Regions from separate parts of the Homo sapiens genome. Here regions 1, 2, 3, 5 and 6 are each linked to region 4. Evidence: promoter capture Hi-C in 16 types of primary human blood cells and fetal thymus (Javierre and others, 2016). All regions are on one chromosome and are shown on one strand. The core of a region is centred on a gene start or on the middle of the fragment in contact, and the rest is flanking DNA. Distances in the headings are between cores, read along the strand shown. Region 1 overlaps NSUN6 (NOP2/Sun RNA methyltransferase 6). Region 2 overlaps ARL5B (ARF like GTPase 5B). Region 3 overlaps LOC105376435 (a long non-coding RNA gene). Region 4 holds the start of ENKUR (enkurin, TRPC channel interacting protein). Region 5 overlaps VIM (vimentin). Region 6 overlaps STAM (signal transducing adaptor molecule).

Region 1 (2,700 bases), core at 101-2,600, 6.4 Mb before region 4:
ATGAATATATCACATTTTGTTTATCTACTTAAGAGCTGATGTATATTTGGAGTATCCCCTTTTGATTATTATGAGTAGTGCTGCTATGAACATTCATGCTGGAGAATTTATATGAACATATGTTTTCATTTATTTGGAGTATATACCTAGGAGTGGAATTGCTGGGTTTTAGAGTATGATTAACTTTTTAAGATACCACCAATGTTCCAAAGAGATCATATTATTTACATTTCAACCTACAATGTTTGAAGATTCCAGCTTCTCCATATTGTCACCAGCCTAATTAAATTTTATATTATTAAATTTCAGGCCAGGCACGGAGATATATGGGATTCACGCGTGTAATCCCAACATTTTGGGAAGCCAAGGCACGCAGATCACTTGAAGTTAGGAGTTCGAGACCAGCCTGGCCAACATGGTGAAATCCCATCTGTGCTAAGAATATCAAAATTAGCCGAGCATTGTGGCGAGTGCATATAATCCCAGCTACTCGGGAGGCTAAGCCAGGAGAATCGCTTGAACCTGGGAGGCAGAGGTTGCAGTGAGCCAAGATCGCACCACTGCACTCCAGCCTGAGCAACAGAGCGAGACTCCATCTAAAAAATAATGATAATAATAATTCAATATGTGGTGCACAGATATTGGGGAGAAAACACTTACTTTTATATCATCCTATTCAGGACATCTCTTTAGGACACGTGAACTTTTCAACGTGAAAGGAAAAAGAAATCCACAGCCTAAAACCTCCTCCAAGTACACTTTCTTACTAGAATCGGGTACTGCTTTACCATTGGTTTCCTATCTAGTGACTCTGACCGAAGCTTCCCTGTCCAACGTTAACCTTCAAAGAAAGGGACCCAAAGTCCAGAGTGACTGATCCTAGCCCATGGGATCTTGTATATCCAGACTAGGATGCTAAAATATCCAGGTTCTGGAAATCATTTGTTGTGGAAAAAAAAAATAATAAAGCCAGGCACAAGGCCTCACGCCTGTAATCCCAGCAGTTTGGGAGGCCAAGGTGGGCAGATCACAGGGTCAGGAGTTCGAGACCAGCCTAGCCAATATGGTGAAACCCCATCTCTACTAAAAATACAAAAATGTAGCAGGCGTCTGTAGTCCCAGCTACTTGGGAGGTTGAGGCAGGAGAATCGCTTGAACACAGGAAGCAGAGGTTGCAGTGAGCCAAGATCGTGCCACCGCACTGCAGCCTGGGCGACAGAGTGAGACTCCCTCTCAAAACAAAACAAAAAAAATCTGGATCTGAGTTATGGATACTTCCAGTGGGCCTCAGAACAGTTTCCTTTTTATTAGCTGAAAACATACACATGGTTATGGAAAAGTAATGATTTTAGTTGCTTAGGGCAACTACTTATGTTTTATACCTGTCATTACTCTCAATAAGATTATCACTATCAATAAAAATCAGATTAATTTTTAAAAAATCTTATTTAATTATTATACTAAGGTTTGGTCTCATACACTGAGATGCCATAGCTGGTTCTTCTAATAACATGGTTGTCTATTCACAACTTGGTACTTATAGTTGTTCTTAAATAGAGTATGACAAAGAGTCCATAAATGTAATAGAGAGATTTTTTAAAAGGGGATAAGTGACTCAGTGATAATTTTCTGAAATTTTCTAAATAACTAAATACAGCTTGTGATTGACAAATGGAAACCCTTTAATCATGGTTGCCTCTCGCTTTTAACTCAGACACAAATAAGGCAGAAATGAGTCTGCTGACACCCACGTTACATGTTACCAGTCAGTGAATAACTACAGTATACAATTTATGTGGTACCTCTCAGCATCTATTCTTCTACATCCTACATTGCTTTTGAGGTAAATTTCAGTGTACAGTGTATGAAACACCTAAGGCAAAGCTTTCAAAAGCAAAAGAGTATATACAAGATAACTCAAAAAAATATAAACAAGATAACTCATACTTTCTGCTTAGAAGTCATAAATGCCATTTTATAATATTGTTTTCATCTGTAAGAGGAATATTTTGCCAAAACTATTTTATTGGTTGGGTAAAAAAAGTCTCATGCTGTTTTACATTGAAAATAGATTCAGATTCATCATCTTAATTTCCTGGTTTTATAAAACATAAGGCGCTCAACACCTTGTTTTTTTTTTTTTTTTTTTTTTTTTTTGAGACAGAGTCTCATTCCATCGCCCAGGCTGGAGTGCAGTCATGCAATTTCGGCTCACTGCAACCTCCACCTCCCGGGTTCAAGGGATTACTCGTGCCTCAGCCTCCCAAGTAGCTGAGATCACAGGCATGTGCCATCATGCCCGAATAATTTTTTTATATGTTTTAGTAGAGACAGGGTTTCGCCATACTGGCCAGGCTGGTCCCAAAGTCCTGGCCTCATGTGATCCACCTGCTTCAGCCTCCCAAAATGCTGCGATTACAGGCATGAGCCACCACGCCTGGCCCAACATCTATTTTTTTATGTCAATTAACAATATAATCTCACAGGTACTTAGTATGTACCTCCTTACCCCTGGGCTTATTATCTCAGCTATACCATCTGTCCTCCTGGTCATTATATGCTACTTATCACAAAGCCACAGGTTTTTAAGGTTAGACTGGACTTCTTCACATGTATTTTAATGATGAAGCTACTAAGGCCCAGTTTAATGCGGCCCAGAGGGGTTTAATGAGCTATTTTAGTCACCAAAAATGAATAAAT
Region 2 (2,700 bases), core at 124-2,623, 6.3 Mb before region 4:
TTCTGTATTCAAAGGACATTGCAGAATATATACCACTTAACGGAATAATTAGATGAGCTTTAGCAACTACTTATTAAAAGAGGTGAATATTTAGTGCATGGCACCCAAAGGAGGAAAGAACTGAAGAGATTTTCATTGTACAAAGAGCAGAAACAGAATCTGCTCAAAAGAACTGTAGAAGCCGGTTGAAAAAATGTTAAACAATGAGTAATTGTGTAAAAACTTGAGAGTATATGTTTGTCTTTGTGACACATGAAACGTTTCAATTTTAAGCTTACATGGGATTTTTAAGTGAGAGGAAGAAACAGATCCTGGTATACATAGGTGGGGAAACTTACAGATATGAAAACATTTTGATAAAAAGCTAACTTGATTGGTACAGAGCTAAAAAGGTGTGTAAAACAGGCTTTTTAAAAAACTTACATTTAGGTTATAATTTTTGCCTAGATTAATATTTGGGTCTCCTCTCCCCTAGATGCAATATAAGTGACCAACTTTGCTGGTGTTTCCTGCCTACCCATCTCCCACATTCTTTTACATGAGAACTAGACAGAGAATCAATGATAATTGATTTTGTTACTTAACCTAGGTAGCCTTAACATCATAACATTTCTTTCTGCATTTTAAGTCTAGTGATAGATATTCAGTGAATGATTCTCATTAATGAGCTAACTAATAATCATTGTTGAAAGCATGTAATTGCAGTAATGCAGTAGTGTTAAATGTTTATGATTTGCTTTCTTTTTGTAGAACACAAAGTAATTATAGTGGGACTGGATAATGCAGGGAAAACCACCATTCTTTACCAATTGTAAGTATGGGTGTTTATTAAACAGTTTTCACTAGTTATTGAAACTAATGTGTTTACAATTAATAAGAGATGCATTATAATAATGACGGAAAAACTTAAATATATGTTTTTTGTTTTTTGTTTTTTTAATTTTACCGAACACAATCTATAGAAAAGTGAGTGAAATAAACATTTGCTAAACCCTTCACAAACACTTATTGTTTTCTGCCCTCGAAAGAAAGAAATTAATATTAAATAAATAAAGCGCATATTAGAAGTGCTGGGGTGAGGTGATAAAGTGGATTTCACTTAGTTCTTACCCCACTTGGGTTTATGTAAATAAATTGATAGCTCTAGGAAGCCATTGCTACCCTCCTGACTAATAGCTTTGGAATTTTTTAACATAGCCAGACTTGTCAAAAGAAATGTGATCACTCCTGAAAATATTGCTGTAGTAGCTTGCAAGAGGGAGAGTCTTGAGACTTTCAGAGAAATCTGTTAATACCTTAGGAAATTTTCACAGCTCATCATTCCACTTGTCAGAGTACCTTCCATTATCCTTTCAATGCCAATGAAATGATAGTATTAAGCAGTAGAAGTGGATCTACCAGGCACTTTAACAAAATAGTTCTACAGTTCTTTGCCCCATTGTGTGGCTCTTACCTCTTCCCACTCATGTTGCATTAGAAGACAGCCATCAGCTCACCAGAAGTACTTCATTAGCCAGTGATTAACGCATTTTTCAGCTACTTTGCTAAAAAGCTACTGACTTAAAGTTTGTTGTTTCAGAGTTGAACAACTACTTGTTTCTCTTGAAAACATTTTCATTCATTGGTGATTATGTGTTTAAATATGAATTAGCTTTTAAACATCACATATAAACATTTCAGAAACCTGTCATCTTTGTTGAAATAATTTTACACATGGCTTCAAAAATATACATAAAACCCAAGAGAATTGCAAGCCTCCTCCAACACAGTAGTGACATGTTACTGGCAAGGGCATATTTGTTGAATTAATTGATTAATGTAGCTTTACCAATGATTATGATAATACGAGGGGTATGAGCATCAGTATTCTAAATATATATATATATATATACACACACACACAAACACACACACACACATATTTGAGACAGAGTTTTGCTCTGTTTCTAAGGGTGGAGTGCAATGGCGTGATCTCCACCTCCCAGGTTCAGGCGGTTCTCCTGCCTCAGCTTCCAGAGTAGCTGGGATTACAAGCGCCCACCACCACGCCCTGCAAATTTTTGTATTTTTAGTAGAGACGAGGCTTCACCATGTTGGTCAGGATGGTCTCAAGTTCTTGACCTCAGGTGATCCACCCAAAGTGCTAGAATTATAGGTGTGAGCCACCACACCTGGCCTTCTAAATATATCTATAGTTAATTTAAATTTTTACTTGCCCATGGTCATCTTTTTAGGACTACTTTAGATTAATATGCCTGAATTAATTTTTGTGACTAAGTCTCAATTTAGACAGTCTTCAAAATTATAGATAGCCTGCTATCCAATATTTGCTATTTTGCAATCACCTAGAAACTTGCTTTTCAGGATGGCATGGGACATTGGGTCTTATCTAACTGATAACAGGGCATGGTGGTATTGGAATTTTTGGCCACAGAAATGCAAATTCACACCACACTGTTTCCTTTCTTTTCCATCAAGCTTGCAATTCCTTCCGTTAAAAAAAAAAACAAACAAGAAACAAGTCTTTCTTCTGGAGTTGTTATCTAGATATTGATTTGCGCAAGTGTTCTCCAGGTTTATAATTTTCATGCTAATGATCACCATCATTGGTGCAGAAGGTTGATTGATCTTAAAAATACAGAGATAAAAGTTGCTTCAGATTCTCAAGATTTACAAGAGCTTTTACGGTGTCTGTTTTTC
Region 3 (2,700 bases), core at 121-2,620, 8.2 Mb before region 4:
TACAGTTTAACTTAATTCTGACACTGTCTACCTCAACTTATAGTCAAATCCCACAAGTTAAGGGTTCATTTCCACAAGACTTTAGGTTGACTGTCACCTACACTTCTGACTGACCAGCTATAAATCAGGGTTCCCACACCCCCTTCTCAGGTTTGATTAATTTGCTAGGATGATGGTTAGCCTGTCCAGGGTCCTGATTGCTAGCAGTGAAACTTCATGGTGACACAATTTGGAATCAGGAAACTTATCCCTTGGCCACTAGATCTGGGAAGTTGGCTCAATGTATGTTTCACCAGATAAGAATATTAAGGTTTTTGCCTCAGGACTGGCTCAGGAAATCAAGCAAGATGGAGCTGGGAAGTGTGCTTTGTGAAGCTGGGAGACATCAGCTGATAGTCTTGTATGGCTGTCTTGTTCTCTGCTTTATCCTCAGTGCGCTGAGTACGTATCACATAGCTGATGCTCAATAAACATTTGGAAACAAGTGAATTAAATGTAAAGCAGAACCAGAGGATATACGGTGGGTCTTACGAATGAGAGTACAGTTGACTCTTTTCTCCTTCTTCCAGCTGAATTACTCAAAAACTGAATTACTCAATAACTACTTCCCTTGGCTATACACGAAAATGTCATGCTCCCAAGCCTGACCATCCCTAACCCACTAAAAAATCACTGCTTATTTCCTAGATGCCCAGCCTGGAAGATTTTGTAAAGCTTCATTTTGTCTCTTTTTTTCTGTATTTTTAATTTTAAAATTACATAATAATATTGACTATGCTTTCCTCAATTTCAGGTACACACTTCCCAGATATTCCAATATGCCTCCTAGAAAAGCATGCCCTTCTGAGTGGAAATGATACCGTTACTCTAATGATGCAGTCCATGCTCTAAGCATCATTTTTTTGACAGTGACATCATGTTAATCTTTCTTTCAGAAAAGTACTATGTCATTTCATGTTATTGTTAAACTTTCCCTGTATTCTGTACTTTTGCAATTCATTTTTTGATAAAAGAGGAAGATCTTATATCTGTCACATTTCGTCTGTTACAATTGGCCCATTGTTGTAGCTTATCAAGACCTTTTGGATTTGATGGTGTTACTTATCGCATTCACTGTCCTTTCCAATGTAATTGTCACCCATAAAGTTGATATGTCTATCCATAATACAAAAAGGGAGCAGGAATTGTTGTTGTTGTTGTTTGTTTTTTTGAGATGGAGTCTCATTCTGTAACCCACACTGGAGTGAAGTGGCGCGATGTTGGCTCACTGAAACCTCCGCCTCCTAGGTTCAAGTGATTGTCCAGCCTCAGCCTCCTGAGTAGCTGAATTTTCAAGGTTAGAGTATTTTATTTCTGTGGCTCCATACTCTGTCCAGAAATAATTATCTGCCATTTGAGTATTAGAGTAAGATGAAGTTACATTCCTCAGCTTCTCTCATTCACATGGTCTTTTGTTAATAACCCTTGATTTTGCATAATTAACATAAAGCAAATCTCCTTTGTAAAGGCTTCCGCTTTTCTAGAGGCACTGAAAAACTTTATAAAAGCATTGAATTTTCTTATGAAAAGGAAGCTAATAACTACCTCACTTAGTTACATGTCTGGCAGCATTGGAGATAAGGATGTGCTACTGAACTTTCTACTTCTTGTTAAGTGGCAAACCATATTGTTTATTTATAACTTAACATATTGTGTTAAGGAATAGGCAATGGTGGTGCTTATGGAAACTTTGTACTCCTGAGCGTAAATACATAATAGAGTTTGGATATTTGTCCCTGCTCAAATCTCATGTTGAGTTATAAAAGCCAGTGTTGGAGATCGGCCTGGTGGGAGGTGTTTAGATCGTGGGGGTAGATCCCTCATGAATGGCTTGGGCCATACCCTTGGTGATAAGTGAGCTCTTGCTCTGAGTTCACATGAGAGCTGGCCACTTAAAAGTGTGTGGCACCTGTCCCATACTCTCGCTGTCTTGCTCCTGCTTTCACCGTGTGACATGCCTGTTTCCCCTTCGCCTTCCTCCATGATTATAAGCTTCCTGAGGCTGCCCCAGAAGCCAAGCAGATGTCAGCACCATGTTTCCTATAAAGCCTGCAGAGCTGTGAGCAGATTAAACCTCTTTTCTTTATAAGTTACCCAGTCTCGGGTATTTCTTTATAGCAATGCAAGAATGATCTATTACAGAAAATTGGTACCAGGAGTGGGGTTTTGTTATAAAGATACCTGAAAATGTGGAACTGACTTTGGAACAAGATAATGGGTAGAGGTTGGAAGAGTTTGGAAGGCTCAGAAGACATAAAGATGAGGGAAAATTTGGAACTTCTTAGAGACTGTTTAAAAGTTGCAACTAAAATTCTGATAGTGATATGGATAATGAAGTCCAGGCTGCCAAGGTCTTCGATGGTAATGAGGAACTTAGTGGGAACTGGAGCAAAGGTGACACATATTATGCCTTAGCAAAGAACTTGGCTGCATTCTGTCCATGCCCTAGGGATCTGTGGAAGTTTGAACTAAAGAGTGGCAACCTGGGGTATCTGGTGGAAAAAATTTCTAAGCAGCAAAGTGTTCAAGATTTGGGCTGGCTGCTTCTAATAGCATGTGCTCAGATGTGGGAGCAAAGAAATGACTTCGAATTGGAACTTATATTAAAAAGGAAAGCAGAGTGTAAAAATTTGGAAAATTTACAGCCTGGCCATATGGCAG
Region 4 (2,700 bases), core at 53-2,552:
AGCTATTACCCTAATACTAGTAAAAATAATTGACCATTAGATCTAAAAGGGGCCTTGGATATTATCTGGTACATTTATCTCACAGATCAGTAAACAAATGAAACTTTATTCTAAAGTTCACAAAGACAATTAATTGCTAGGCCCGATTTTTAGTCCAGTCCTTTTCAAATGTGGTTTTGACTTGCATACGGACAAGGATGATGGTAAAAGACAGGAAACATTTCAAGTCCTAGGAGAAATGAGATTTTCTCCACTACTTTCTTTGCTCCCCACAGATTTAAGTAAGTTCTAAGAAGTCCCTACAGATGGGAGTAACTGAAGTGCTTCCTTTGCACGTTTTTGAGATTTGGAGAATTTAAGAGGTTCTAAGACCTATGTAAAATTTCAACTCAATTACATATTTTTTGGTTCATTATCTATCCACCAATTCTTCCTTCCATTTAAACCATTAGATCTGAAAAAGTCCTTAGAAACTGCCTAATAGTGGTAGATATTTCGTTTCACTGATCAAAAACCTGAGGCTCAAAAGCAAATGTAAATTTATATTTCATAAAAATCTTGGGGGAAAAGTCCTATCCTATCCCATTAGAGAGGGAGTAGTGCAGTTAGAAATACAACACCGAACTCCTGAAACCAAACATCAAGTATCCTTAAACAAGATAATAGAATTGTGATTTTTTTCTTTTCAACATGAAACTTCATACTATGCTGTATATCACATATAATTAAATTACACAATAATCACATACCGTATTAATAAGAGGTTAAGTGTAATATAATAAAATGGTCATCTCACAGCGCCAGACTGCCCTCTCTGTAAAACTGTGAGATGCTGAATACCTAGATATTTCGACCTTTTCTCTAACAAGTTATCCTCCAAGGCTACTTCATCGAGGCAAAAATACATTTTATTTATTATTAAAAATTCCAGTATATGTATGCTTAATTAATACTGAGTATTCCCCATTCTTGTTTCAAGTGATAGTCTTTGCTTATCCACATACCTAGGAGGCTGGGGAGGCTCCTTCAAGTCACTGGGTATGAGGTTATAAATGCACTCAGAAGAGCACGTTGGATCCATGGCCACCAAATGACTCCTTAAAAGCTACTCTCCACAACTTTTTTCTCCCTGTCCCAGTATCTCCGTCCCTTTCTTCACTGCTTCCCCTTTCTTTCTTCTTCGCCTTCTGAAGGACCACAGGTTCTCTCCTTCACATCGTCCCCCTTTAACCCCCTCTTAGCAGTCCTCTCTCGGGAAGAAAACACCCTATTTCTCTCCGGATTGCTAAGCGTCGTTGACTGTGCGGTTGCCGTGGAAACCGTTACTAGGCAACGAGGAAGTGGCAGGCAGCACCGCAAACTAGGTCTCCCCTCTTCCCTCTTTCTGCAGCGCCTTCTGCTAGAGAAGCTCATTTGGAAGCCACTGTTTTTACGTGCCTTTGAAAGTTAACGGGGTGAAAATGATGTCCCCTTAAAAACTGTGCTCTTTTCTATTTCTGTGTATCTGGGGAAAAAAGAAAAATCCTAGTAGAGACGGCAAAGCGCAGCTGGTGCGCAGGCGTCACCCAATAAGGTTTTTGTGAGCAGGCCCCAATCGCGGTGTGGGCGGAGCGAGCGGCTGAGACCACGAGGACGCAAGGCCAGCGCCGCCAGGGAGACGAGGGAGGGGAGGAGCCTGAGGAGATCGGAGTGCTCGGATAGGCTACAGTGAGAAAGGAGAGTCACGTGCCCTGCGCGAGGCCGCTCGGGGAAGGGCGTGGAGCGGAGGCACGCTGGCCGCCGCAGGCACAGGCGCAGAGTCCACTGCGCGGGGGCGGGACCGGGGAGCTAGCTGCAGGTACGGTGCTCCGTCTCCTGTGGAGGCTTTAGCGGCTCGTGGACACTGCTCCCCCATTTCCTTTCATTTCCCCCGTCTTCTCAGTGAGATTTCCTTGGTGAGTTATTGGAGGAGAAAGGAAGGAAAACTAGAAGCCAGCCCGCTCCCATCGCATGCCTTTCCCCGTACCGTCCCTTCCCCTTTCCGCTACTCGCTGGTCATCTCAACTCTGCGCGCATTTTTCCTGCTGCTTCTGGTCGAGGCTCCTCGGAACGCCGCGCAGCCCTGCCCGCCACGTGTGTGAGTGCGCGCACGGGGCCCGCGGCCTCCTCCGCCTGCTGCGCTCGCCCTCCCGCCCCTGCTCCCGGGACCGCCCCTTGGGCGGTCCTCCGGGTCGGCTCTGCGCCTGCTCTTCCCCGGGTCGGGACTCTTCCTCTAGGTCGTTCTCCAGGAACCAGTGGACCTGCTCTTTGTAAATGAGCAGCCTAAACTAAGAGGAGAAGCCTTTTAAGTGGGCCTTTACGTTTTTGTCCAGTTTTTGGTGTCCCTTGTTGGAAAATTGTCTTCTGAGAAGCGGTTTTATTCCTTTTTGTTCCACCTGGTCACCCGTAAATCTATGCACATGGGCCTGCCGTAGGAAAGTCATTTAGACGCTTTTACCCGAGTGTTTAAAAGACATTTTGGTAATAGGATTTGGGGAGGAAGATGGATGCCTCTGAACCACCGGTACAGAGGCCACTCTGCCCGAAGGAAATAAAGCTTCCCGGAGAGGAGAGAAAACACACTTGAGTCTGGGTTTCTCACTGCCTGGTTGGCTGGCGGAGTGATTAAAACAACACAATGGCCTGGTGAACCTTTTAGTTCCTGTATAAAAAGGCTTTACT
Region 5 (2,700 bases), core at 192-2,691, 7.8 Mb before region 4:
AGCTGCTCTGGAGGCGCAGAGCGAATACGTGGTGTTTGGGTGTGGCCGCCCCGCCCCTGGCGGTTTCCTCGTTCCCCTTTGGTTAATGCGCAACTGTTTCAGATTGCAGGAGGAGATGCTTCAGAGAGAGGAAGCCGAAAACACCCTGCAATCTTTCAGACAGGTTTGTAGACTCTCTTCCCACTCGCAGCCGCCTGACCCCACCCAACACAACCCACGAGCAATTCTAAAAGTTGCTTAACTCACGTCTAAAAAGTGCAAAACTTCAGGGCTGCGCGTAAAGCCCTCTAGTGGCGGGAAGACCACAGGTTGGAGCTTCTCATGATTAGAAAAATATTAATAAAACCCCTTGAGCGATTTTTTTTTTTTTTTTGAGACGGAGTCTTACTCTGTCGCCCAGGCTGGAGTGCAGTGGCGAGATCTTGGCTCACTGCATCCTCCGCCTCCCGGGTTCAAGCGATCCTTGAATGATTTCTAAGCAGTTCCTTGGGACATAAAGAAAAATCTTTTAACTTTTTACTTTGTTTCCCAAATGTTGCACAGTTTTGCAACACATTGACCTTCTGGTTTCGAACGGTTACAATTTTAGATTGTGGTTTGCCAAAGTCAAGTTGCTTAATTTTTACAAGGCCACAAAAAGCGCAATTATGCCCTGCAGTTTAAAATGGAAAACGTGTTGGAAGATAAGAAAACTTAGTTTCCAACTGGAATGGAGCCAGCAAGTTTCTTTTCTTCTTTGCAAATTCTATTGTGTCATTAAAGTTCGATGGAAGTATCACTATGCACAACTATTTTGTGATCTAATAAGGGTGAAAAGGAGCCATCTGTCCCCTTGGCTAAGGGGTATTAATGGTTTCTATGGGCTTCACTATGGAATGTAGATACAGACATTCTGGCAAATGTGGTGGCTCTGGACAGAAATAATAGGAGTCTTTGTATTCCCAGGGAAGCTTTGCAACAGGCTACATTCTTACTGAATATGTAATGATGTAAGCACGGTTCTAATTGGACACAAGTATTTGCTAACATCCGTTATCTAATATCTGGCCCAGACTTGAGAAGTAGGTAATGTAAAAAGTTTTTAAAGCTACAAGCATACCTCACATTTTAAAAGTCCTTTCTTGATTGGGTTCTTGTGTTCTTTAGCACTCTTGCCATAAAAAATAATAACAGTAATAAACCCAAGGCTGAAAAACTGAATTTTAACTAAAGGGTTTTTGTGCGTGTTTTTTTTTTTTTTCACCAAAATTAGATGGACTTACAGAATTTTTAACTTAAAATTGGAATCCAAAAGCCAGAAGATCCCCATTATAGTTTATAGTTGTATTCCCTGGAATATTTACTGGGATTAACTGCAAAGCACTCTCAGATGAATAGTGTAGTATAACATTTTGAAACTGAAATACATTTACCAAATTAATTTAACCACAGCAATGTGTGTGGTTCATTTTAGTCCTTGAGCATTTTTGATTATCATACCTGTCATGTTTTCTGCAGTGTAGTGAGTTAACATAAAACAACATCAATACAAAAGATCCTCTGTTTCGAGATTAAGCAAAATTCCTCATTCTCTTCAATGTGATAGAATACCACATTGATCTTTCTTTGGAGGTTAGTAAAATATCTTTTATGTATTTTTCAGGGCTTAACAAGTAAAAATCAATGTTTTCATCAAGTCTGATCTTTTTGTCACCCACTCTTCATTCATTTTTCCACTAAGGTGATAGAAAAGTCTCAACAGTTTAAGACCGTAAGGCTATGAACTCCAAATATAATTGCTGACAAGATAAGCAATCCTCACGCATCCTTTTGAGAGGAAATAAAATCTTAGTTGCAAGATTACATATTCTGATTTGGAATGCTGAGCTTTTTAAATGGAAATATAGAAGGACGGCTGAATCAGCAAAAATCCTTTATGTAGTTTCATTCTTTGCAAGCTTGACCAGTCATTCTGAAACAGGCTAACTGAACTGATACAGTGGCAAGTGAAAAAGACATGCCTTTACAGGATGAGTCAAAGGAGTTTTAGAAGAAAAATCCACCAGAGAAAGCCAAGCAAATACAGTTCAGAGTTACATTTCTTTTCCATTTTTTCCTGAACTGAATCTTTGGCATGCATATCCTGAATTGGGTTATTGAATATAAATCTAGCCTTGTACAATGGATGCCAGATGACTACATATTTGCTTTGGAGCCTAAGGATAAGTTTCAAAAGATTTGAGTGGAGAAGAAAAGCTAAAACTCTTGAAGCACAAGTTTCTGTTCTCCATGTACTCAAGTGTACATGAAGTTGTGAAAATTTGTCCACCTCTATCATCATGTTATTCCATGAAATTACAAAACAAATCTTAAAAATGTTGTGGCATAGATTTTCTAGATTTAAAAAGTAATTAAATTAAATGAATTACTTTATTTTTTGAGACAGAGTGTCACTCTGTTGCCCAGGCTGGAGTGCAGTGGCACTATGTTGGCTCACTGCAACCTCTGCCTCCTGGGTTGAAGAAATTCTCCTGCCTCAACCTCCCAAGTAGCTGGGACTACAGGCATGTGCCACCACACCCAGCTAATTTTTGTATTTTTGGTAGAGACGGGGTTTCGCCATGTTGGCTAGGCTGGTCTCGAACTCCTGACCTCAAGTGATCCACCCGTCTCAGCCTCCCAAAGTGCTGGGATTACAGGCATAAGCCACCATGACCAGCC
Region 6 (2,700 bases), core at 19-2,518, 7.4 Mb before region 4:
TATCCCTGGCCTTTATCCACTAGATGCCGGTGACACCCAGCCCCCACTCATGATTTTAGAAGTCTCAGGACATTGCTAAATGCCCCCTGGAAGGACAAAATACCTCCCAGTTGAGAACCGCTGCACTAGTCCACTCTAATTTCCACCTTCTTACAAAATCCTCTAACTTATTTTAGCATTTTTGCCTTTACCGAATTATTTAGCATTCAAGATAGTTTTATACTCCTTAATGAGAGGTTGCTACATAGGAGGTGTTTAATAATGTTTGTTGAGTTGAGAATGTGTCAGTTGAGCCTGCCAGACATTATACTTCTTCAGTGTAGCAACATTGTTTTGCTCCAGAAAAGCTTACTTTTTAAAGTTGCTCAGGTTTTGGTATTGGACCAATTCTCTTCTCACAATCCTTGTATTGAAATATTACAAAAGGTTTATCTAAGAAGACCCCTCAGAGATTCCCAGTACATAAGCCTTGCACAGAGTCCAGTAGACTCATATTATTTTTTAATAGTATAACATATAGAATACAGTGTATAGAATACACTTAACAATTTTTTCTTTCACCATATCTACCAATGAATATGTCATAACATTAAAGTAACTCATTTGATACAGTTATTTATCACTTAACACTCGTATACATTTGCACATCTTCAAAATTAATTGTCTTCAGTCTTAATCTGAGGCTGAATCAGAAATTCACTGACTGATTTATATAATATAACATTTTTTATAAAGAGACACAATGCTGGTGATAGCTTTTCCCTTGGAAGAAACACCGAAAGATGTTACTAGAATGTGAGCTCTGTGAGGACAGGGATTTTTGTTTGATTTTTTCACTGCCGTATCCCTAGCTGTAGACCAGTTTTTGGCATGCTGAAGAACTTTCAGTAAACATTTATGGAATAAATGAATCTCATTTTGGACATTATAATTCAAGAGCTGAATTTAGAAGAAACGTAAAGATAACTTATTTCATCAAGTTTGTATTTCAAAGTCTCTAGTGACTTCCACCTTGCCAAATCCAATGGTCACTTTCTAGTCCATTTCTTTTTTGATCTCTTAAGCATTCCTCTTTGATATACAGTATTTTATTCATGGGATTTCAGGACACCAAACTTTTTCTCATTTTCTACTTAGCTCCTTTTAAATTTTTTTGCTTCCCCTTTTTGCAACTTCTAAAAGTTGAGTGCCCTGCGGCTCAGTTCCGGAGCCTCTTCTCTCCTTCCACTTTTTTTTTTCCCTTAGAGTATTAGGAAGCAATTTAGCTTAGTGTTAAGAATTCAGACTGGGGCCACACTGCTTGGATTCAGTCCCAGGTTTGCTGCTTACCGGTAGTGTGATTTTTGGCCTAGTTGCTTAGATAATCTGTGTCTCAGTTTCCTTATCTTTAATATGGAATATAAGAGTAATAATAGTTCTTACCTCAGAGAGTTGTTAAGAGGGTTGAGTTAATATTTGTAAAGCACTTAGAAAAATTTCTGTACTTTTTATTAAGTAAGATTTTAAAAAGAACCTCATCTAATTTCTTAGCTTTAAATACCTAGCGTATTCTGGTGACTCCTGGATTTATGTTCTTACTCTCAGCCTCTTGCCTGAGCTCTCGACCTAGATATCCATCTCCTTACTGAGCATCTCCATTTGGATTCTGCTTAGAGTCTAAAAACAAACATTCAAAAACTCAATTCTTAGTTCTTTGCCCAAACCTGCTCATTCCTTCATCCTTGCCCTTCTCAGTAGACGACAACATGATTACTGTTTCCTGTCACTGAGCTCCAATGTCTAGGAGTATCACTGATTCTTCTTATTTCTTCACACTTCACATTCATCCTATCAGCAAGATATTTTGGCTGTACTTTAAAAATATATCCAGAATTTCATTGACAGGTGAAACTAGCTGGACTTCCTGGGTCAAGTGGGGACTTGGAGAACTTTTCGGTCTTACAAGGGGATTGTAAAATGCACCGATCAGTGCTCTGTAAAAACGCACCAATCAGTGCTCTGTAGCTAGCTGGAGGTTTGTAAAATGCACCAATCAGTGCTCTGTAGCTAGCTAGAGGTTTGTAAAATGGACCAATTAGCACTCTGTAAAATGAACCAATCAGCAGGACATGGGCGGGGACAAATAAGAGAATAAAAGCTGGGCACCCTAGCCAGCAGCAGCAACCGGCTCGGGTCCCCTTCCATGCTGTGGAAGCTTTGTTCTTTCACTCTGCACAATAAATCTTGGTGCTGCTCACTCTTTGGGTCCGTGCTACCTTTAAGAGCTGTAACACTCACCACAAAGGTCCGTGGCTTCATTCTTGACGTCAGCGAGACCACAAACCCACCAGAGGGAACAAACTCCGGACACATCATCACCTTTTTCTGTCTCACCATTCTTACCTTACTTCAGTCATTGTTATCTCTTATAGTCAGTGGCAAGAGCCTTCTGGTAGGTTTCTTTGTTACCACTCTTGCCTCTACAATCAGTTCTCATTTACAAAGGTCAGTGATCTTTTAAAAATGTTAGATAATGTCAGTTACCTGCTCAGAGTTCTCTGGTAGCTTCCTATCCTACTTAAAGGGAAATGCAAGTTTTTTTATTGTGGCTCACAATATGGCTTCTTCCTGTGTGTCTGATATGATTATGATCTCCAGACTCACTCTCTTGAATTCCAGGCTTCTTAAATCTGAACGCTCCAAGCTCATTCCTGCCTCTGT

What was found. The method cuts DNA at HindIII sites, captures the fragments that hold promoters and counts their contacts. A CHiCAGO score of 5 or more calls a contact.
Region 1: a contact is called between a fragment that was not itself captured here and the fragment with the promoter of ENKUR in region 4, in 1 of 17 cell types (monocytes). The highest score is 5.1, in monocytes.
Region 2: a fragment that was not itself captured here is called in contact with the fragment with the promoter of ENKUR in region 4 in 1 of 17 cell types (total CD4 T cells); the score reaches 11.8 in total CD4 T cells.
Region 3: a fragment that was not itself captured here is called in contact with the fragment with the promoter of ENKUR in region 4 in 1 of 17 cell types (total B cells); the score reaches 5.2 in total B cells.
Region 5: a contact is called between a fragment that was not itself captured here and the fragment with the promoter of ENKUR in region 4, in 1 of 17 cell types (total B cells). The highest score is 5.1, in total B cells.
Region 6: a fragment that was not itself captured here is called in contact with the fragment with the promoter of ENKUR in region 4 in 1 of 17 cell types (naive CD8 T cells); the score reaches 6.1 in naive CD8 T cells.

The regions. Positions count from the first base shown.
Region 1 is chr10:18,645,596-18,648,295 of GRCh38, forward strand. The region is part of intron 2 of NSUN6 (NOP2/Sun RNA methyltransferase 6); the gene reads right to left. Among named protein-coding and RNA genes, the nearest start is that of NSUN6, 4.6 kb to the right of the region's middle. The HindIII fragment of the contact is 1,063 bases long and covers 820-1,882 here.
Region 2 is chr10:18,665,825-18,668,524 of GRCh38, forward strand. ARL5B (ARF like GTPase 5B) reads left to right here. Exons shown (of 6, transcript NM_178815.5): 2 at 751-811. Among named protein-coding and RNA genes, the nearest start is that of ARL5B, 7.7 kb to the left of the region's middle. The HindIII fragment of the contact is 2,205 bases long and covers 272-2,476 here.
Region 3 is chr10:16,820,035-16,822,734 of GRCh38, forward strand. LOC105376435 (a long non-coding RNA gene) reads left to right here. Exons shown (of 3, transcript XR_930708.3): 3 at 794-1,223. Among named protein-coding and RNA genes, the nearest start is that of RSU1, 4.0 kb to the left of the region's middle. The HindIII fragment of the contact is 1,317 bases long and covers 713-2,029 here.
Region 4 is chr10:25,014,856-25,017,555 of GRCh38, forward strand. It overlaps ENKUR (enkurin, TRPC channel interacting protein), which reads right to left and starts at 1,303. Exons shown (of 6, transcript NM_145010.4): 1 at 1,005-1,303. The coding sequence starts at 1,081. It overlaps THNSL1 (threonine synthase like 1), which reads left to right and starts at 1,757. Exons shown (of 3, transcript NM_024838.5): 1 at 1,757-1,837. RefSeq lists silencers at 1,309-1,358, 1,689-1,888, 2,069-2,148 and enhancers at 1,432-2,194, 1,505-1,799, 2,399-2,478. The HindIII fragment of the contact is 2,880 bases long and covers 1-2,573 here.
Region 5 is chr10:17,230,548-17,233,247 of GRCh38, forward strand. VIM (vimentin) reads left to right here. Exons shown (of 10, transcript NM_003380.5): 3 at 103-163. Among named protein-coding and RNA genes, the nearest start is that of VIM-AS1, 1.9 kb to the left of the region's middle. The HindIII fragment of the contact is 987 bases long and covers 949-1,935 here.
Region 6 is chr10:17,646,277-17,648,976 of GRCh38, forward strand. The region is part of intron 1 of STAM (signal transducing adaptor molecule); the gene reads left to right. Among named protein-coding and RNA genes, the nearest start is that of STAM, 3.5 kb to the left of the region's middle. The HindIII fragment of the contact is 1,847 bases long and covers 346-2,192 here.